5 separate regions of the Homo sapiens genome follow, and all the other regions are linked to region 4. Evidence: promoter capture Hi-C in human tissues and cell types (Jung and others, 2019). All regions are on one chromosome and are shown on one strand. Each heading gives the region's core, a stretch centred on a gene start or on the middle of the fragment in contact. The rest is flanking DNA. Distances are from core to core; before and after follow the strand shown. Region 1 overlaps DLEU1 (deleted in lymphocytic leukemia 1). Region 2 overlaps DLEU1 (deleted in lymphocytic leukemia 1). Region 3 overlaps DLEU1 (deleted in lymphocytic leukemia 1). Region 4 holds the start of KCNRG (potassium channel regulator). Region 5 overlaps DLEU1 (deleted in lymphocytic leukemia 1).

What was found. Contacts are between HindIII fragments. The study calls those that stand out against the background at their distance.
Region 1: a fragment that was not itself captured here is called in contact with the fragment with the promoter of KCNRG in region 4 in 1 of the 25 tissues and cell types used here (H1 embryonic stem cells).
Region 2: a contact is called between a fragment that was not itself captured here and the fragment with the promoter of KCNRG in region 4, in 1 of the 25 tissues and cell types used here (dorsolateral prefrontal cortex).
Region 3: a fragment that was not itself captured here is called in contact with the fragment with the promoter of KCNRG in region 4 in 1 of the 25 tissues and cell types used here (hippocampus).
Region 5: a fragment that was not itself captured here is called in contact with the fragment with the promoter of KCNRG in region 4 in 1 of the 25 tissues and cell types used here (dorsolateral prefrontal cortex).

What each region holds. Positions count from the first base shown.
Region 1 is chr13:50,369,029-50,371,963 of GRCh38, reverse strand. The region is part of intron 2 of DLEU1 (deleted in lymphocytic leukemia 1); the gene reads right to left. Among named protein-coding and RNA genes, the nearest start is that of DLEU1-AS1, 160 kb to the left of the region's middle. The HindIII fragment of the contact is 3,571 bases long and covers 1-2,935 here.
Region 2 is chr13:50,502,179-50,505,153 of GRCh38, reverse strand. The region is part of intron 5 of DLEU1 (deleted in lymphocytic leukemia 1); the gene reads right to left. Among named protein-coding and RNA genes, the nearest start is that of DLEU1-AS1, 24 kb to the left of the region's middle. The HindIII fragment of the contact is 5,430 bases long and covers 1-2,975 here.
Region 3 is chr13:50,388,045-50,390,973 of GRCh38, reverse strand. DLEU1 (deleted in lymphocytic leukemia 1) reads right to left here. Exons shown (of 7, transcript NR_109974.1): 3 at 683-776. Among named protein-coding and RNA genes, the nearest start is that of DLEU1-AS1, 140 kb to the left of the region's middle. The HindIII fragment of the contact is 3,939 bases long and covers 1-2,929 here.
Region 4 is chr13:50,014,015-50,017,163 of GRCh38, reverse strand. It overlaps KCNRG (potassium channel regulator), which reads right to left and starts at 1,720. Exons shown (of 2, transcript NM_173605.2): 1 at 1,093-1,720. The coding sequence starts at 1,670. It overlaps TRIM13 (tripartite motif containing 13), which reads right to left. Exons shown (of 2, transcript NM_213590.3): 2 at 1-3,149. All of the region lies in intron 10 of DLEU2 (deleted in lymphocytic leukemia 2), which reads left to right. The HindIII fragment of the contact is 16,932 bases long and covers 1-3,149 here.
Region 5 is chr13:50,436,117-50,439,399 of GRCh38, reverse strand. All of the region lies in intron 4 of DLEU1 (deleted in lymphocytic leukemia 1), which reads right to left. Among named protein-coding and RNA genes, the nearest start is that of DLEU1-AS1, 90 kb to the left of the region's middle. The HindIII fragment of the contact is 4,234 bases long and covers 1-3,283 here.

The DNA of each region.
Region 1 (2,935 bases), core at 89-2,588, 360 kb before region 4:
TCGCCGCTCAGCTCTCCCTGGCTCACGGGTCAAGCCTTTCTCTCCAATAGGGAGTCCTCCATTCTTCTCATCTCACACCTCAATTCCTAGAACAGCCTCCTCACCAATTTTCTTCCTTCATTCCTCCCACTCTACTCCATGCCACACATATCTGTCAGAATAATCTTCTAAGAATCCTACTTACATCATGAAACTAATTTAATTATTCCCGCTTCTCTCTCCCTCCCCACCTCTCCAGGCTCAGTCTGAGTTCTATCTCCTCCCTGAACTGTTGCGCAGTGGCCCCAGTCCCTAGAGACCTTTGCTCTTCAATGCTGCCATACCAGGGCTAATATTCATGGGGTACAGATTGTCCACTCCCACAGTGTGTTCTGATGGGATTGGCATCCATCGCAATCCAGTCTGATGCCTGTGCAGTACTGGCTGTTAGAAATTTTGACAGATATTTTGACTGTCTTCCTTGTCTACAGCATCTATTGTCTGGATCACTCATCTTGGTATAAACTACACAGCCTTGCTATTTAAATATTCCCAATGTGCATATGTTTTTACTTTCCTACCAGATTGTGATTCATTCTCTGAGGGCAGCCATTCTTGCACCCAATCCCCAGGAAGGAGCCCAGAAGCACGTGCCAAGCTGGTCCCTCCAACACTGGCTAGAGGAATCAATGGATGGAGTAAATAACTAATTTACAATAAAAATTTAAACACTGCACTTACTTCCCATCATCCAGCCTACAAATTTTAGAGCCTCCTGCCTTGCCTTAGTGTACCCACCTCCAACACACTCCACCTGTCTTCTGCCCTCTCCCTCTTACTGTTTATTATTCCCTGAATGTGCACGCCCCGCCTGGCTGTCTCCCTCACACACTGAAAATGAAGTCCCTCTGGATGCTGCCCAGTGACAGTCCCTCCTCCCCTCTGTGTGCTCTGGACTTCCTACACTGAAACTTGAAAGTTATTTCTGAGAGACTTTAAATTTCCACTCAAGATTCCAACAAGTCAGAGTGTTCTGGGCAAAGCATGGATGCCAAGGAAGATACCCCAGTTTCATGGCTGACAAGCTTTATTGACGACTTATTTTAACTCTAGCTGAAGAAGACCATGAAACTAACCACCCCGTTTAAAACTGAAAACACACTCTCCTTGCTCGCAGCCCTCCCAATCTTCTTCAATCTGTTCTGTTTCTATATCACTCATCTCCTTCTAATAGCTTATGATTTACATATTTAATCTGTTCACTGTTCATGTCCCTGAACTAAAACATGAGCTCCACAAGGGCAGAGATTTTTTAAATTGTGGTGAAATACACATAATATGAAATTTACTATTTTAACCATTTTTAAGTGTACAATTCAGTGGCATTGAGTACATTCACACTGTTGTGCAACCATCACCACTATACGTCTCCAGAACTCTTCATCTTCTCAAACTGAAGCTCTGTACCCGGTAAACACTAACTCCCCACTTCCCCTTTTTGCCAGCCCCTGGCAACCACTCTTCTACTTTCTCTATGAATTTGACTGGTCTAGGTACCTCATATAAGCAGAACCATATATTTGTCTTTTTGTAACTGGGTTATTTCACTTAACATAATGTCATCAAGGTTCAGCCATGTTATAGCATATGTCATAATTTCCTTCCTTCTGAAGACTTAATAATATTCCATGTGTGGTAAATGCATATAGGCTACATCTTATTTATCTATTCACCTGTTGACGGGTACTTGCATTGCTTCTACCTTTTGGTTAATGCTGCTATGAACATGAGTCTACAAATATCTCTTCAAGATCCTGCTTTCCATTCCTTTGGGTATATTTCCAGAAATGGAATCATTGGATCATATGGTAATTATATTTTTAATTTTCTGAGGATCTACCATACTGTTTCCCATAGTACCTGTGCCATTTTACATTCCCACCAACAGTGCACAAGCGTTTCAATTTCTCCACATCCTTGTCAACACTTGTTACTTTCTGAAATGGCAGGGATTTCTGTCTATTCTATTTGCTGGTGTATGCTAAGCATGAAGAACAGGGCTTGACATGAAGTCAGCACCTGATAAGTATTCATAGAATTCAACTGTAGAACTGGTGTTGACAAGTGGCCCAGGATGGCCGGGGTTTGAACCTTGGCTTACACACTCAGACACTCCACATGGACACATTATTTGGCCTCCCTGAAGTTCAGGTTGTCATTCATCTGCAACAGCACCTATCTTGAAGGGTGTTGTCAAAGCCCAATAAGATGAGAGATGTAAAGCTCCCTGCCCACTGTGTCTGATACAGGACTCTCTTGCACATTTCCTTCCTTCCACACTGATTCTCTTGAACAGCACATTAAGCTGACTTGGAAAAAGACTATCAGTAATCAAGTTTGGTTAGAGAGAAGTCATTGTCTTTTTTGGTTAAGTTTCATTTGATCACCTCTTGATTTGTGAATCTAAGAGAAATCCCATCGACCCACAACCTCCTACACTGCCTTTTTTCTTCTTCGTAGCACATATCATTACTTGAAAGTATATGCAATGTCTATTATTTTTATCTGTTTATCCATTTTCTCTACCGGAACACAAGCTTCAGGTAGGAAAGGTCTTTGTTTTTCTTGACTACTGCCACATCTACAAGGCCCAGAACAATGCCTGCAACATAAAAAGTCTCAAGAAATATTTGTTAAATGAAGAATTCATTTAAACAGTTACTAATCACCTGTACAGGTATAGGCACTATGCTTACTACTGGGCATCCTATATAAATAAAATACAATTCCTGCCCTCAAGGATCTCACAGTTTAATTAAAAGATGATTATAAACAAATTATTAAATATAGTTTGAGATGCACAGTAAAGGAGCAGGTAAAAAATTATACAAAGAAAAAAGGTATTAAGTCTATCTGGAGGATGTTGTCAAAGAAGGCTTTCATAGGAAAGTGTCCC
Region 2 (2,975 bases), core at 267-2,766, 490 kb before region 4:
AATGGGCAAAAACTGGAAGCATACCCTTTGAAAACTGGCACAAGACAGGGATGCCCTCTCTCACCACTCCTATTCAACATAGTGTTGGAAGTTCTGGCCAGGGCAATCAGGCAGGAGAAGGAAATAAAGGGTATTCAATTAGGAAAAGAGGAAGTCAAATTGTCCTTGTTTGCAGATGACGTGATTGTATATCTAGAAAACCCCATCATCTCAGCCCAAAATCTCCTTAAGCTGATAAGCAACTTCAGCAAAGTCTCAGGATACAAAATCAATGTGCAAAAATCACAAGCATTCTTATACACCAATAACAGACAAACAGAGAGCCAAATCATGAGTGAACTCCCATTCACAATTGCTTCAAAGAGAATAAAATACCTAGGAATCCAACTTACAAGGGATGTGAAGGACCTCTTCAAGGAGAACAACAAATCACTGCTCAATGAAATAAAACAGGATACAAACAAATGGAAGAACCTTCCATGCTCATGGGTAGGAAGAATCAATATCGTGAAAATGGCCATACTGCCCAAGGTAATTTATAGATTCAATGCCATCCCCATCAAGCTACCAATGACTTTCTTCACAGAATTGGAAAAAGCTACTTTAAAGTTCATATGGAACCAAAAAAGAGCCCGCATTGCCAAGTCAATCCTAAGCCAAAAGAACAAAGCTGGAGGCATCACGATACCTGACTTCAAACTATACTACAAGGATACAGTAACCAAAACAGCATGGTACTGGTACCAAAACAGAGATCTAGACCAATGGAACAGAACAGAGCCCTCGGAAATAATGCCACATATCTACAACCATCTGATCTTTGACAAACCTGACAAAAGCAAGAAATGGGGATATGATTCCCTATTTAATAAATGGTGCTGGGAAAACTGGCCAGCCATATGTAGAAAGCTGAAACTGGATCCCTTCCTTACACTTTATACAAAAATTAATTCAAGATGGATTAAAGACTTAAATGTTAGACATAAAACCATAAAAGCCCTAGAAGAAAACCTAGGCAATACCATTCAGGACATAGACATGGGCAAGGACTTCATGTCTAAAACACCAAAAGCAATGGCAGCAAAAGCCAAAATTGACAAATGGGATCTAATTAAACTAAAGAGCTTCTGCACAGCAAAAGAAACTACCATCAGAGTGAATAGGCAACCTACAGAATGGGAGAAAATTTTTGCAATCTACTCATCTGACAAAGGGCTAATATCCAGAATCTACAATGAACTCAAACAAATTTACAAGAAAAAAACAAACAACCCCATCAAAAAGTGGACGAAGGATATGAACAGACACTTCTCAAAAGAAGACTTTTACGCAGCCCAAAGACACATGAAAAAATGTTCATCATCACTGGCCATCAGAGAAATGCAAATCAAAACCACAGTGAGATACCATCTCACACCAGTTAGAATGGCGATCATTAAAAAGTCAGGAAACAACAGGTGCTGGAGAGGATGTGGAAAATAGGAACACTTTTACACTGTTGGTGGGACTGTAAACTAGTTCAACCATTGTGGAAGTCAGTGTGGCGATTCCTCAGGGATCTAGGACTAGAAATACCATTTGACCCAGCAATCCCATTACTGGGTATATACCCAAAGGATTATAAATCATGCTGCTATAAAGACACATGCACATGTATGTTTATTGTGGTGCTATTCACAATAGCAAAGACTTGGAACCATGCCAAATGTCCAACAATGTTAGACTGGATTAAGAAAATGTGGCATATATACACCATGGAATACTATGCAGCCATAAAAAAGGATGAGTTCATGTCCTGTGTAGGGACATGGATGAAGCTGGAAACCATCATTCTCAGCAAACTATGGCAAGGACAAAAAACCAAACACCACATGTTCTCACTCATAGGTGGGAATTGAACAATGAGAACACATGGACACAGGAAGGGGAACATCACACACCAGGGCCTGTTGTGGAGTGGGGGGAGGGGGGGAGGGATAGCATGAGACGATATACCTAATGTTAAATGACGAGTTAATGGGTGCAGCACACCAACATGGCACATGTATACATATGTAACTAACCTGCACGTTGTGCACATGTACCCTAACACTTAAAGTATTAAAAAAAGTTTTATAGTAAATATATTATTTTTCTGATAATAGTAAGATAGTTAAACTATTATATATGTAATACTATTATATGTAGTAATATATATATACTTGGTAGAATATTATGGAGTCATTAAAAAGAATGTTATACAAGAATTTATGATAATATTAAGAAATACTTACGTTAAAAGAGTAGATGTTAAATTATATATATGGTAGGATGCCAAATTATAAATTGAATAATAACTACACCTGGAAAAAGACAGGATGAAAAGACACTAAAATATTAGTATCTTTGAATAGTGATAGTACGGACATTATTGATATTACCTATAATAAACATGTACTATTTATAATGCAAAGAATGACCTTATTTTCACACTAAAAGAAATGAGAAAAAATATACTTCTCATTCCATTGACCCAATTCTCACCTAAGCCTCAATTGTTCACTAGTTGGTTTGTATTTAATAAACACAATTTTTTTGTTCATTTAAGGGCATTATTTTAGAACTTAAATTATTGGCAAACATGTCTCCCAAAAACTGTAGCAAGGAGACCAGGTTAACAAATAAGCAATCCTAATTTCTTACTGGCTTAACAGAATAAGAAAGAATTTTAAAGAATGTATCCCCCCATCCCTTCCCGTTCCCCAAGGAGCTAAATAGGGCTTTAGATCCCTGGGGTTTCCCTCCCTTGGAAAGGGACAATCAAAATGTGACTTCTTCTTCTTATCATTCTTGAAAATGCAGGATATAGAGGTAAACAATTGAATTCTCCAAGCAAAGAGTAGAGAGATCGATGTGACACCAATCCAAGAAAGCCAATATAACACAAAACAAATTAATACTAATTTTGTATCATTGAACACCCTTTAAATATTCAA
Region 3 (2,929 bases), core at 2-2,501, 370 kb before region 4:
AGTGTGCCACATGCACACAAAGTTTGGGACTCAGCCAGAAAGTTGGGCACCTGATGCATGGAATTTGGGGCTCCCCTCTCTGGCACTCTTCTTTTAGAGGTTTCCTCTCACTTTCTTCTGGCTCTGGCTGCTCTCAACTTTTTCTTCTAGTTCGTCAGGCCAGAAAGACTATGGGCATTGTCTAAGGCCTGCTCTTAAGCTAAAAACCATAAATAGGGGAAGACACACCTTGTCTTATCCTTTCACACATGTGCCAACTAATCCCCATAATCTGCTTACAGTTACTCACCTTCAGATAGTTGTTCTTTGTATTGTTTATCTGTGGTCAGTCTGGTAGCAATTTAGCCATCCCAGAAGTGAAAATAAGTATGCACATTTTAAAGTAACAATTAGGCATAAGACATTTAAGTGTGTGAGTTAACTTTTTGTGTTCATTTTTCCACAATAAGAAGACTTAGAGGAGCAAAAGAACACAAGACAGCTTGGAAGTGGAGAATAAGTTTCTGGAAATTGAGAAAACACAGAAAAGGAGGTAGAGGCACCACGACAGCATAATTATGGGCTGAGTTGATTCTCGGTCCAGTCTGGCAAGAGTGATGAAGGTTACTGGTAAACATGTGGAGAGCCACATGCTGTGCTCCATACCTGCTCTTTGTCCCCCAGCCCCACTCTCCACTCTCACCTGCTGTCTGCCCTGGAGGCCAATCTATATGAAAACTGTGTCAAGGGTTCCCTTTTCCTCTGGCTTCCATTTGCATTCAACCAGTGGAGAATACCTGCAGGAGATTAAAGGGAGGGAGGAAAGTGAGGTCAGGATATTTTTCCCCCAAGATCTCTCCCTGGTAGGTTTCTGTGACTTGATTGCATTCCTCCACCAAAGGCCACATTAACTATCAGGCAGCCCTCTCAAAAACCTCTCTAGGTGCTGGTAAACACTCCTTTCCTTCCACCCTTCTGGCTTAGTGTTGGTAATGGCCCTCTACTGGGGCGCTGCAACATCCCTTGTTGCTTTTCCTAAATCCTGCGCACACTTTTGTAAACAGTTCCTTTATTAAACTCTTCCCAGCATGAGCGCACCATCTGTTTCCTGCCAGGATCCTGATGGATAGAGCACGCTCAGAAAAACAACTTTAACAGGGCCTTAGAAACAGGATGGTAAAATATCAGCCCACTGTCAAGGAGGGGAGAACACATTAAATACCTCCAAAATAATAACTCATAAGCTTTATTCACATGTATTGCCTAATTTAATGCATTTAACAACACTCAGATTACATAGGTAATGATATCATTTCCATTTAAAGTTGAGAAAATTGAGACTCTAAAGCAGGTGGGCCACTGGGATTCCCTGACCTTCTTTAGGCTATAAATCCTCTTATCTCCCCACTACCCCTAACCCATTTCATTCAGACAACACACACCACCAACGCTGAAATGTAGAGCTCTCCAACTTCTGGGGCAGCCAGGACATTTTTAAAGTCCTTGAAGCCCAGGAAGGGTGTGGTCATCCCAACTTTGCTCTGCTTCTGTTAAAATCCAAATGCTAGAAAAATAGTCCGTGGTAAATTCAGCCAGTTTGGAGACCTGAGCATATTGTTCAGAGACCCCTCTTGCATTTATTTTAAAGAAACTATTTTTAAAAACTAAAATGCAATATGGGAGTTGTAGTGTGTACAGCTCACTGAAGTATTCCTTAAACATCACTCCAGGGCTCCACAGGAGTTCCCAAGCTTCAGGTTGTGAAACTCATGATACAGAATTTAAGTCAGCAGAATAGATTAAGACCTCAGGCTCTGGGAATGGGCAGATCTGAGTTCCTTTACAACATTTGCTAGCAGCCATATTCTAGGCAAGCTGCAGAATTTTTCTTATCTTCAGTTTTCTCATCTGTAAAATGGAGATAATAATAATACCTACATCATAATGTTAAATAAATTAAATAAGCTCAGTCATTTTAAGTGCTTAATACAGAGCCTGGCTCACTATAATCACTCAATAAAATACAGCCAACATTAATATTCAGATTCAAATTCACAGCAAAGATTCATCTTATTATAATATGGCATGTAAATATTAAAAGAAAAATGTCTTTAAATCCTTCTGGACACATATTAAAGCTTCCCAATTGGGAATTTACAAAGAAATAGCCTTAAGAGTATCCAACATTGCTCCCATTTCCATTTCAATAAAAGACTCCAGAAGTTGCTGGTCCTCTAAATAAGCCTTGTCATTTCCTTAAGTAAACTTTCCATACCACTGGGTATAAAATGTAACAGAAAGCTATGTGCTCAATTTATTTTATAGTTTCTTACTTATTGTTTTCCATTTCCTGTTTCAAAGCTGTAAACGTTCCTTAAACTGCAGCTAAAATTACTATTGCCATTGAATTACCTAATTTCTTAGTGTAGAGTCTGGATTGGAGGGCACTCCACCCCCAGTGGGCTACAAGCGGCATGTTGCTAAGCAAGGGCTGTGCAGTTCACTCTTGCACGTGGTTCTGACTTTGCCATTTGATGCAGGTGGGTTCTTTCTGCAAATTGCTCATTAGAAAATCTGGATCCAGATTTTAACCATGGAAGTTATTCTAGAAATATTTAAGGACTGATTGATCCACCAGAAATGGGAACATTTTTACCATATTTGGTCATCGTTCACAGGGAGACCAGAGTTCTCCCTTGTAAAGGCTTTCAACCTATTAAATATTTTATCTCCAAATTCCAGTGAGTCTTTGGAAAAACCTCCAATCTATCCTTCCCCCTTCAGTCAAGGCCAGGATCATGGAGCCCTGCCCTCTAAGATTGACCCATGGAAAGCTCAGGGAAGCGTACTCCTCAGACATCAGTGTCCAGGCACAAGCAAGGCCTTCTGGGGACATCATTCCGTGGAGCTGGGTGCAAGGCCAATGTCTAATCTATTCCAAGAATCAGAA
Region 4 (3,149 bases), core at 471-2,970:
TACAGAGGTTTGAGATAAAGATAAGGTATTAGATTTTCTTCACAATCAGCCTACTAGCTTGACTGGCTCTCTTTTCCCAAAATGACATTTCAAACTCTTTTGAAGGACAGGAAGTTATAAAATGTAAACAATTAAGAATTGTCATACTCGGTTATTCTACCTAGTGTCCTCCAGTTGGTAAGCAAGACCAAGGAGTGTGTCGCTAAGAGAGAGAGACACTGGTATCCTTCCTGTTGGCTACTGCTCAAGTTAAGAAAATATCTTAAAATACGCCTACCTTTACCAAAAAAAAAAAAAAAAGTATATTTTAAATGATACCAATAAAGAACACATGCAGGCTTTTCTTTTCCTCCTAAAAATTAAAGCCAGCTTTCACAGTTGGTAAAATAATGGTAGGACAGCATTAAGACATTTTACGGGGGGAAAAATGTTTGTGACAGCAGAGTGGAAATCAGCGTTAGGATCCAGCCAAGAACAACAGAGGGAGTAAGTGAAGAATTGACTCAGGAGCAACTATCCTTAACATACTGACAGCCTATCCCAATATTTTGAGTTGTTTAAGAGCCAAGGCTGTAACAGGATACCAAATTTGCCATGAGATATATCTGTCTTTAAGGGTGTTTAAAAATAAAGTCAGCTGAAGGAAAAACAGTAGTTGAATCATAAAACTGAAAGAACAACTTATATAGTGTGTAAGGAACTCAAGAGAAACCAGTGAGCGAGCCTTTATGTGAACCACTGAAACAATCTCTTAAAAATAAGGCAATTCTTTTCTAAGTCAAATTCATTAGCAATGGAACATAATCTACAAAATTATTTTCTCCCATGATTTGAATGTCCATAGTCTCAGTTTTTTCTGGGCAGTCTTCATTTATTCCTTTTGTCCCACCTAATAATAGCCCCTTTCACTCTAAAAAGTATCCCAGTTTGGAAAATAATTATTTGGTCATTCTACCCAACTCCACTGGTTACCCCAAAACATTATTTTGAATAATCATCTTTTCCAGAAGTTACAGGCCTGAGGAACTTCAAGTTTTTAGAGAAAACATCACAAACTGGTATACAAGAGAAATACTGCAAAGTACAAAATACCTGACTCCAGTTTGGTTATCAGTAGTGCTGTCAGAACCACACTGGAAAACCAGGTCATGGTAAGAAGGTCTTTGTGGAGGCAGTGGAAGTAAGGTCATCTGAGGAGGGAAAAAGTTACCATTCCAGGTCGGCGCTGAAGGTTGTTCTGTAAACACTGTAATCCTCCCTGTTAGCATCTCAATTGTTTTGCTGCAAGAGCCAAACACCCTGAAAAAAGCTTGAGTGTTCCGGCTTAGGAAATGTACCTCCACAAGAGCAGGTCTTGGCTGTAGCAGGTATGGGTTTAAGAGATCAACTAGAGAACGAAGTTCATAGAAAAGAGCCTCTCTCTGAAGCCTAAGATAGTCTGAAAATTCAGTGGGTAATAAAAGCTGGTGAGTTCTCAAAAAATCTAAGATGAAACTAAACAAATCACCATCTCTGTCTACAAAAATCTGGCCACCAACCATCTTGAATTCTTGGTCTCTGCCATCTAACATGCGTGCCAAACGAGAAGCAGGAAACTGCTTTATCGTAGAAAACCTTGTCGTGAATATCTTCCCTCCCACATTCAAAGTGACCAGTTCCTGACTACTCATTCTTCCCTCACTTCAAACTAGAGGCTACCATCAGCCACACTTAGGAAATCAACCTATAACCATAAATGTTGCTAGTTATACATGATTATGCAGTGGAGGGGAGGGAAGAATAACAAAAACCAGACTTAGATTCCCAGGAAACTACTGTAAGGTAAATAGTGTATCCATGGCTGTGTTTGCAAATTCGAGTTGCCTGGGAACTTGCAGTATACAAAATGAAAAAGCAACAGATGAGGAACTAAATAGCTTAAGGAAAACTGCCAATATATCTGAAGATAGACATCAAATAGATCCCTTTCCTGTCTTACATTTAAAAACTTATCCATGAAAACCTAGTAAAACTATATATATATATATATATATATATATATATATATATATATATATATATATATATATTTTTTTTTTTTTTTTTTTTATTACTGGGAGGGGAAAAGCATTCTCCCTCCCCATACCTGTCTACCACGCAGAGGCTAGACTTAAACGTTTTTCTTAATTTCTTATGATCTCCTTAGAAATTTAGTGGCTAAATCATGAATTACATGTTAGGAATGAGACAGCCTGGCAAGCTCAATTTGACTATTCTCATAGCTAGAAGGAAATCATTTCTTCTGTGCTTTAAATTTAGTTGCCACCTTTTATCCTGTCCCCATTTTCATTACCTCCTCTCAACCAAATTAGAGGAGGACTGAGGTAAAGAACTCTTATTTTCAGAAAGTCTATTCCACTTAATGGGCTTTCAAGGAATATCTTACTCTATGACACAAATAAGGCAGACTAGAGAGCAGTTATAAGGTTACTTCTTTGTTATATGAATTCTAAGCAAGGTGTTTATTCCATGAGAGGGTATCTTTATCTCTTGTGAGCAGACAGAACAGCATTAGTGTTCAGCTGATTACTTTGTAATAGCTGACAGACTGTTTTATCTGTTGTCAAATTAGTCTTAACTACACTAAACATTCTTTCTGTAAGCAAGTGGATTGGTTTGGTTGTACACTTGCCATCTTTCGAACAAAACAACACATAGCTGCCAGAAAAAAGGTAGTCTTCCCATTTCCTGCTCTTGCCATGTGTTCTATATATACATATATATGTATATATATGTATGTGTACATATGTGTGTGTGTGTGTGTATATATATATATATATTTTTTTTTTTTTTTTTTTTTTTTTTTTTTTTGGTAGAGACTGGGTCTTGCTATGTTTACGAAGCTGGTTTCGAACTGGAACTCCTAGCCTCAAATAATCCTCCCACATCACTGTCCTAGAATGCTGAGATTATAGACATGAGCCACCCTGCCCAGCCAGCTGATCCTTTTTTTTAACCTATCTATGCTTTTGCTTGCATAGCCACTTAACATTTCTAGTTGATCATCTTTGGTGAAAACTACAAAAACAAAGGAGAAAAGGGCAGATTGAAAGCTCCACTCTCCTAAAAATGTAAACTTATCACAAGAAAATGCCAGGTTTTGTATGTAC
Region 5 (3,283 bases), core at 142-2,641, 420 kb before region 4:
CACCTTAGCTGGAGCCACCATCATCTTTCTCTTAGACTGCTGAACTAGTTTTGGTCCTGCTTCTGCTCCTGCAAAATATTCTGCACAGAGTGGTCAAAGTGATCCTTTTAGAACCTAAGTCAGATAGTGTCACTCCACTGCTCAAATTCTCCAACAGCTGCCCATCTCACTCAGAATGAAATCCAAAGTCATGACCACAGCCCAAAAGGCTCTAGTACATCTGACCCCTGGTTACCTCTCACACCTCAATTCTTACCTGTCTTTAAGTCCTTCGTAGACATGACCACCAAAATGCTGCTGAGCAATCACAATAACACCCCTTGCCCCATTCATTTCCCTTCTCTCACAATTACTTCTCCTCTCTCCTCAAAGTCCTCTCTCATTCCTGCTCCCAGATGATGCTCTTATTCCTTGTTGTGCTAAGAAAGCTTTAGAAGAGTCCACATGCCCCTATCTCTATATTTACCCACCTACCAGCAATTAGAAGAGTCCACATGGTCCCATCTCTATACTTACCCATCTACCAGCGTCCATGCCCATTGATTTGCCCTCCTCATGGATACACTGGCCGTGCTTGTATTTAAGGCCAATCTCTCTTCTCATGCATCAGATCCCTCCTCTCTAACCTTCATCAATTCTCTCCTCTCACTCCTGTATCAATTTTTCCCTCTCCCCTGGATTATTCTCATCAGCATACAAACATCACATGATTTCTCCCTTCTTAAAAGTAAAAGAGCTCTCTCAACTTTGCTTCTGATTTGTACCACCTTACTGCAGCAAAACTTCTCTTAAAAAAATAATCTTTACTTTCTCTCCTCCCATTCACTCTTGATCCCACTACACTTACTCAATGCAAATCTAAACCCAGTGGTCAGTTCTCAGACTGCACCTCGTGTGACCCACCAGCATCTTTTGGCATAGTCCATCACTCCCTCCTCCACACATTTTCTCTGCCTGGCCTCCAGGATGCCACAAAATTCAGGTGTTGCTCCTAGTCAGGACTTACTCTCTTCTGCTCCCCTCACCCTATTCCCACCCCAGAACTCAGCTTCTCTGGCCGCATCTCCTATCAGGATCTCCTCATTCTCTATCACTAGTAACACAAGTTGGCCTCTTTGCTGTTCCTCAAATAAGTCAGTTTAAAAGGCCTCATCCTTGCTCTCATCTCTGCCTGGAATGCTCTTTCCTCAGCTCCTTTAAGTTTTTGTTCAAATGTCACATAATCAATAACATCCTCCCTGACTACCATATTTAATATTGCAATATCTACCAACCCTTAAACTTCCTACTCCCATTTATTTCCTTCATGGCATTTACCACTTTCTAATATACTACAACATTTATTTATTCAATTTAAGTCTTCCCTTTGGCCAGAATATGGTCACCTTGTCATTCAAAAGTTATTTGATGCAGATTTTTTATTCTAGACACCTGGCCTGTTAACCATGTAGCAAATCATTGTCAAATTAATGAAGCTTTGGCTTCTAGCATATGAGTTAAAATAAATATCACTATTGGAGACATTATATCAAAAAGCTGAGACATACTTAGGACCCCAAATTAATGAACAAAATATTCAATAATAAACAATATTAAGTTCCCAGAAGATTGCTCAGAGCTGGCTTGGCCGACATAGAGAACTGTTTCCATAGCCATGGTGGGAAATACTAATCTTGAAAAGAGATGCCTCTCAAATCTTTAAGTGAGCCAGTACCCTAGGTAACTAAATGAGTAGAGAAAGTTAGGTTCTATCTTACACATAAGATTATCCAGTTGCCAGCCCTCAAATACTGACACCCCATGAGCAGATTGCTCTTAAATTCTTCAGGTCTTCGAGTAGACATAATCATTTTACAGAAGCCCAACTCAGAAACAATTATACTGCAACATAAGCAGTAGAACCATTTCATGCCAAGCTAATGACTCTGGGACATGCAAGGCATGACTCTCTGTACAAATCCACTTTAGAGCAGAGGTCAAAACCATTAAACTAATGGTGAACTTGAGTCCCTGGGCTCTGAGTGCCCCATGACTCCAGGGGATTGAGATTTGTAAGAAAAATACTAAACATAGAGCTCTGTATAAACACTCTAAAGGATTCTTTATACAAATGCCTTTTTGTCTAAAATCAAAACTCTAGAAAATAGAACATAAGTTTCTACATTTAAATTGTTAAAAATCATTAAAAAGACATTCAAGAGTTAAAGAAAAAGAAAAAAATTCTCAGCATGAAGTATGAAGATATCGCTGCTTGACTTTAATAAAAGTTCTATTAAATCTGTTCTTTTCTGTTTAAAATGCTCATTATAAAGCTGTAGTCCCTTTACATTTTCTTAAAAATTCAAGCTTTGCAACTTCTGAGAGCTTTGGTGTTAGTGTGATGAGCTACCTTCCCCCTCCCCAAGAAATGTCCTTATTGAGACTGAGTTTCCTTGGGGATGGTGGGGGGAGGGGGTGGTGAGTGACCTGGCCATATGATGTCAACATACTACCACAGAAGACAGAGATGAAAAACCATGTTCATGGACTTTTAAATTTAAATTTAAATCTGTAAAATCCTTATAACAAAAAACACTCCTACACAGAAACTAGCTAGCTGTTCACCAAGCATTTTCTATTCTTGCCCCAGTTTCCCAGCCTCCCTTGAAGTCAGCCATAACTGAAGTCCAGCCAATGAAATATGAACAGAAGTGATGTATACCATCCCCAGGACTTAGCCTATAAAAAATTTCTGGAACAATGTCAGCTTGATGTAGATGGGTGTGGCAACCTTAGAAGCCCTAGGTCAAAAATGGCAGAGCCAGAGATGGAAGAAGCCCAATAAGGAGCCATAAATGACTACTTGGAAGATAATTGCCATTGAAAGAGAACCAATATTGGACATTACATAGATGTTAACATAATTTTATTGGCTAGGCATGGTGGCTCATGCTTATAATTCCAGCCCTTTGGGAGGCTGAGGTGGGCAGATAGCTTGAGCCCAGGAGTTTGAGACCAACCTGGGCAATATGGCAAAACCCTGTCTCTATAAAAAATACAAAAATTAGCTGGGCATAGTGGCATGTGCCTATAGTCCCAGCTACTCAGGAGGCTGAGGTGGGAGGATTGCCTGAGCCTGGAAGACAGAGGTTGCAGTGAGCCAAGATAGTACCACTGCACTCCAGTCTGGGTGACACAGCAAGGCCCTGTCTCCAAAAAAATAAAAATAAAAACTTTTATTAAGATTTTTTTTCTTGCTGTGTTACTATAGCCCTCATTACCTTAACAACATTGTATCTTAGTT